Regions from separate parts of the Homo sapiens genome. Here region 1 is linked to region 2. Evidence: promoter capture Hi-C in 16 types of primary human blood cells and fetal thymus (Javierre and others, 2016). All regions are on one chromosome and are shown on one strand. The core of a region is centred on a gene start or on the middle of the fragment in contact, and the rest is flanking DNA. Distances in the headings are between cores, read along the strand shown.

Region 1 (2,864 bases), core at 211-2,710, 1.4 Mb before region 2:
ATAATAGAGACAAGAACCAAAGACTAAGGCCTGGAGCACTACCAGAGAAGCACCCAATAATATAGAAAGAAAGAACAGCCAGTTCCATCCCAGAGTATTTCAAGTCTGCAACAGGACTAGTTGACTTAACACCACTTGCCACTGTAATAATTACTTCCCAGGAAAATAAGTCCAAGGATATTTTTCCAGTTTCTATGCCAAGCCATGATAATGATTAATTGCACAGTACCTGGCACATGGTAAGAGCTTCCTAATTATTACAAGTTGTTGAATGAATTATTTCAGGGCTCTGGGAATAAGCCAAAATCTCTTGAGACTTGAGCCTTTATTAGAGAGACCTGATATATGAGACACATTTAGGGCCTTTCCCTTTTGGGCTCTCCAGGAATATTGAGGACCAGATATATCAAGGTGATCCAACCTGAAACTAAACTGGAAGCCAGCAGGCTGCTCCATGCAAATCATCTGTGTTTCCTTCCTAATCAATTCTATCTGTTGTTTTTTTTTTTTTTCCTTGAACATCTATCCTTCTGCCTCAGAGCCTTTGGACTTGCTGTTCTCTTAGTCTGGATCATCTACTCCTTTGAATAGCTCATTGTCTCTCTTTACTGAAGTTTCAGTTTAAATTCACCTCTTCAGAGAAGCCTACGACTACTGTTGATCACTAGTGATCATTGTTTGGCCTCAGCCTACACTAGTCTCTTCCACTTATCTTTCTCTTTATACCACTTACTACTGCCTGCCATGGTATTATATTTATTTGGTTGGTTGGTTATCCTCTGATTCTCCCACTAAAAGGCAGTCTCCCTGAGACAGGGATTTATTTTGTTCTTCTTCCATCCGCAATATGTAGATCTAGAACAAAGCCTCGCCACTAGCAGGAAACTTGATAAATGTTGGTTTATGAATGAATCCACTCTCTCAGATCTGTTCCAGATACCACTGGACCAGTTAAAAATTATATGGATTTCCCACCATGTGGAAAGATTATTATTCAGCATAAGTAAAAGTGAAGAACACGTGATCCCAAACCCACAAAAGCCTGCAATCCGGTTGCTCTAGGTTAGACTGTTAGGCTGATAGCAGTTTACTTCCCATAATTCTATTTCCTGCCAGGCTCCCGAGAGGAGAGACAGTGCTTTGGGTGAAGAACAACACTCATTTTAGCAGAGGTTCCATGGTGTTTTCCATGAGAGTCATCTCTGGGCAAACAATGTAAGCTTCAAAGTAAATTTAGTTTCTCATCTGGGATGAATAACTTGTAATTGTGTCTTATAAATTGTACCCAGCAATCCTTTTCTCACCCCTAGCCCTTGAAGATTGGAGGAAATGGTGTTTCTGACTACACCAGTAACAGGATGGGAGCTTATTTTAAAGACACTTGTAGGAAAGGCTTTGGAGAAAAACTAGCTTATCGGGAGACTCCTAATTCAGGATCTTATATCCTTGATTAAACTCTGACTTTTACAATTTCCCAAAGTACACACACACACACACGCACACCAGAATTAACTGATTCAGAATGAAACCAGCTAACACAGTGGCGCATTGTGTAGAGGTTGATCTCTATTGTGACCTAACTCCATGGACTACATGGAGTTATAAGAACCAAAACTAGGTATTTGTGTGACCAAAAGATAAGGAAATTAAGAATACCTAAGGCTATTAAAGGAAAAAAAATAAGAAGGTAAGCAATAAGAAAAGCTTTCAGAGTCTCACAGCTCAGTCCTCTGTTAGGAGGTAAAAGTTTTATTTCTGTCTCAAGCGTAGGCTTAGGCAAACCCAAGTCTTGCTCTTTGTGGTGGGCTTATGAGCAGGGTGAATGGAAAAAGGGAAATTCCTGGCAAGCTCTGGCTTGGAGATGGTACAAAAAAACCTCAGTAAGTATAGTGTATTTCCTTCTTTCCTGAATCCATACTAACTTGCCCAGTAAAACTTTCTTTAGTCCTTTACTGATTCCAAGACTTATTTTAATTTTTGCCTTTCAATTCTTATTTCCTTTCCCACAGATGGTACTGGCTAAAACAGAAGCCTGTAAAAGTAAAGCTTAAAAGACGTTCTTTCCTTTTTTTGGCTTTAAAATGTTTCACATGACTACATGATAGTCCCACCTCATCCACCCACACTTACATTTTTCCTCTTCCTAGCATTAATAGGTCTAAACATGCAGTTAGGCAGGAAATTTAGAATAAGAAACTTTATTATTTTCTTGCCTCTTAGAGGAGTTTTCAAAAAAATATTGGAGGGGTTCTGATTCCAGGTACAACGGAGTAAGTGTACTCACACCACCCTGTTCCTCCCACTGAATGCGGCTAAAAAACCTGGGCAGAATAAGTGGAGCATCTGAGGACTCTGAAAAGTAAATAATAGCAGGCAGATTGGAGATGAAGACCAAAATGGTGAGTGTGTCATCTTTTCCCCTCCAGTTTCCTTTGAAATGAACACAAGACTGCCTGAAACCCAACATAGATACTAAGACACAGAGAGAGCTCAGGTGGGATCCTCCAATTATGGCTCGTAGAGTGGGAAAGGAATGCCTAGCACTAGGAGATGAAAACAATTATTTTAATTTTTTCCCCTTTTCCCCAGTCTTTTATTTATGTTAGCCCCTACTAATTACTGCAGTGGTAGCAATAACAGGAGCACATGGGAGTCACAACTGAGAAAGAGGAACATGCCTCTCCAGTTGGAGGAGCTGTGGCCCAGAGAGGGTGCGGCAAACTCCTGTGGCTTTTTCTACCTCCATGTTCCCTCATCACTTGATCTGAGATGTGGGGACAGTTTCAGAAAGTGCACAACAAAGTAAGGCTACCAGAAACCCAGATTTCTGACCAGAGAACAAGGTGAGAGCCCCAGGACACCAA
Region 2 (3,127 bases), core at 325-2,824:
AGCTTATAAAGTTCTCTCTCTTTTCTTCAGCCTCTACGAAGATTGATAAAGGCATTTCCAGAGGCAAGTGAAATTCTTCCCCTCTCTGCTCGTTCTCCTCCAGGACCTCCTCTTCCTCTTCCAGCTCCTCCTCTTCCAGCTCCTCCTCTCCCTCCTCCACATATTCAGCCTCTTCGACCTCTTCTTCCTCCTCATCTTCGACCTCTTCCTCCTCATCTTCGACCTCTTCTTCCTCCTCGCTCGCCTCCTTTGCATCACACACCTCCTGGTCATACTCCTCCTCATCATCATTTTTCTTCTCCTCCTCTTCTTCCACCAGCAGCGGGGCAAGAGACTGGTTTTCCTCTGGGTTGGGACTGAATGCTAGAGAGGGATTCTGCACAAAGCCATACAGAGTTTCCTGCAGTCCCCAGGTTTCCTTGCTGCCGCCAGGGGGCGCGTCGTTTCCGGAGGATCTGGCTGGGGAGGCCTCGCCGCTCACCGTGGCCTTCTGCGCCCGCAGCGCCTCCTGCTGACGCTCCACCTTCTCCTGCTGCCTCATGTCCTCGTAGATCTGGTTCATGATGAATTGGGTGGTGTTGGGCGGCGCTCGCATGCCAGGCTCTCTCCACTCATACAGCTTGACCGGCCGCGGCAGCGTGCTCACATCCGCTGGCGGGCTCCGCGGGTAGGAGTGGCGAGGGTGGTGGCGCAGGCCGCGGCCTCTGCGGCCCCAGCGCTTCTTCCTGCCTGGGGGCTTCACCCAGCCAGGGTTCCAGGACCCGCTCCAGCAGGAGCAGCAGCAAAAGCAGAGAGGGTGCAGGCCATACACCCGAAACACTTGCACCGGGCAGGGGAATTTCCAGAATCCTGGAGGGGGTGGGCGCCAGGGCCCTCCCCAGCACCCCCAGTTAGAGCACACGGGTGGTTGGAACCAAAAGCCCGGGCCGTGCTGTTGCTTCGGCTGCTTCCTTGGGGGCCCATACTCGGTCTTGGGGCTATATCGGTGCGGTCTATTGTACGCTGGAGCACCCGGGCGCCTTCGATGGCAGGACGACCAGGAGCTCAAGGAGGCCGAGTGTGCCCAGCCACAGCCACAGCCGCCGCCGCCACCGCCGCCCAGGTTCAGAGGGTCTTCCCTTGTGTCGAGGGTCTGAGTCATGGTTCAGGGAGCTCCGAGAGGTCCAGATGGTAGCGACCTGAAGCTGTCGTCAAGTTTTGCCAGGTAGGACGGTCAGAAGAGCCTCGTCTCGTCAACCTGTCTCTCCACGCAGCGCCACGTGTCTACCCCTGGGATCACGTTTTCCTCTCCAGGAGGCTGCTCTCTTCCTGGTTTGCACGCTCTTCGGTAGTAATCGCTTGTCCTTCGCACCTGGGTTGTCTCGCCCAGGTGTGCTGGGTGGGACTGGGGCTGGGTAAGGATGGTGGGGGAGGAAGGTGTTGGCAGGCGACACGCAGTGAGACCCACTCCCGGGTCCCCACCACACCCGGCTCTGCTGAGGCACGGGCTGGGGCCGGGGGAGGCAGGGGTTGCGCAGTTACCTGCTGCTCCCTCTCAACCCAGGTGCTTCACTGTCGCCGTCCTGGCAGGACTGTGGTGGCGAGGGCAGCGGCAGCCTTTAAATACTGGCTGTGGTCTCCCGCGTGCCCACTGCGTTCTTGGTCACCCAGGGCAACAGCCAATTGGGGTCGAAATCGTCCTCCCTGTGTGCAAGGCCGGGTTCTGTCCGGAACCAGGCTCCAGGTGAACATTCGCAGGGGGCTTGTGACGCAGCGTTTGGGGGAGGTGAAGAGGGGTCCAGGCTGGGTTTCTGCTGCTCAATTCAAGCAAGTCTGGAGGCAGTTTATCCGAAAGCTTTGTATCACCTTGAGGCGGGGGTTTAGAAGATGGGCCTTCATCTGAACCCGGTGGGGGCGGGAGAACTTGAGTTTTGAAAACCCCACATTCTACACCTTTGGAGGGCCTAAGGGATCATGGAAAATTACTGGAGAAAGGAAACTTTGCCCAACCTCTTACCTTCTGGCCGGTGCCAACTCTTCTTACTCCTGAGAATTGGGATTCATAATACATAAAACAAGACCACGAACATTTATTATTGCATGTGCTCACTGACAAATAATCCTGTCATCTACCCTGAGAGGTAGGCGTATCTTATCACCTGTCACAGATGAGGGAACTGAGAGCTTAATTTCCCCATGGTTGTGGGGCTAATAAATTTCCAGGCTACGATTTAAGCCTAAACCTGTTTGACCCAAAAGTTAGGTTCCTAATGACATTGCTATGTGTTCTACCAAACCCCCAGTAGGACCCTTGTGATAACTAAATGACATAACATTTGGGAAGGTACTTTGCTATTGGTAATATACCGTACATGTGTACCTCAATTAAACAAATATTATTATTACCATAATGAATACCACAGGTTTGTCCTTGGGAAGAGGAATATTCTGATTGTCTTTCCTTTTGTCCCTTCACTGACCATACAGCATATACACGGGAAGCCTTTAAAGCATTGTGGTTAAGCATATGGGTTTTAATTTAAATAAATGGGATTCAACTTCAACTCACCAATTATTAATCTCTGTAAGCCTCAGTTTCCTTACCCATACCATGATTATACTACCTTTTCCATACGGTTGTGTAAAGAATTAAATGCATATAACAGGTCCTCTAATATTAATGTTTTGCTCAATGTCATTTCCTTATAACGTTGCTGAGGCAAAACAACAACAATAACAAAACCACGTTTCATTATATGTCTTCTCATTTAAAAGTAGCAGTTTCCAAGAACCTATGATGCTAAGTGAGGACTTACTGTAATTCCTTCAAGTACTTAGTGCAGGTACCCTGTAAGTACTCAGTAACTGTTAACTATCATCCTTATTTGTAAATACTTCATGACTTCTAAAAGAGATGATATAGTATATGTAAAGGCACTTGTTCTTGATGCAAAAATAGGCATCCCCACCCTGGCTTGTGTCCTTTTCTTGTCCTTCTTTGTAAAACGTCAAGGAAAGTGCTACCATACTTGGTCCTAGAGAAAACCGTCTCAGTTTATATCCCTTTCTTACTTTTCTGTGCTGAGTGGAATTGCACAAAATGGAAAACTGCCTGCTGGGAACTTCAGTCTATATAAGGCTCCATTAA

The links. The method cuts DNA at HindIII sites, captures the fragments that hold promoters and counts their contacts. A CHiCAGO score of 5 or more calls a contact.
Region 1: a fragment that was not itself captured here is called in contact with the fragment with the promoter of CCER1 in region 2 in 13 of 17 cell types (naive CD8 T cells, monocytes, total CD8 T cells and 10 more); the score reaches 13.2 in naive CD8 T cells.

The regions. Positions count from the first base shown.
Region 1 is chr12:89,549,280-89,552,143 of GRCh38, forward strand. No RefSeq gene overlaps it. Among named protein-coding and RNA genes, the nearest start is that of POC1B-GALNT4, 24 kb to the left of the region's middle. The HindIII fragment of the contact is 484 bases long and covers 1,219-1,702 here.
Region 2 is chr12:90,953,602-90,956,728 of GRCh38, forward strand. CCER1 (coiled-coil glutamate rich protein 1) reads right to left here and starts at 1,575. Exons shown (of 1, transcript NM_152638.4): 1 at 1-1,575. The coding sequence starts at 1,141. RefSeq lists an enhancer at 484-583. The HindIII fragment of the contact is 2,103 bases long and covers 1-1,832 here.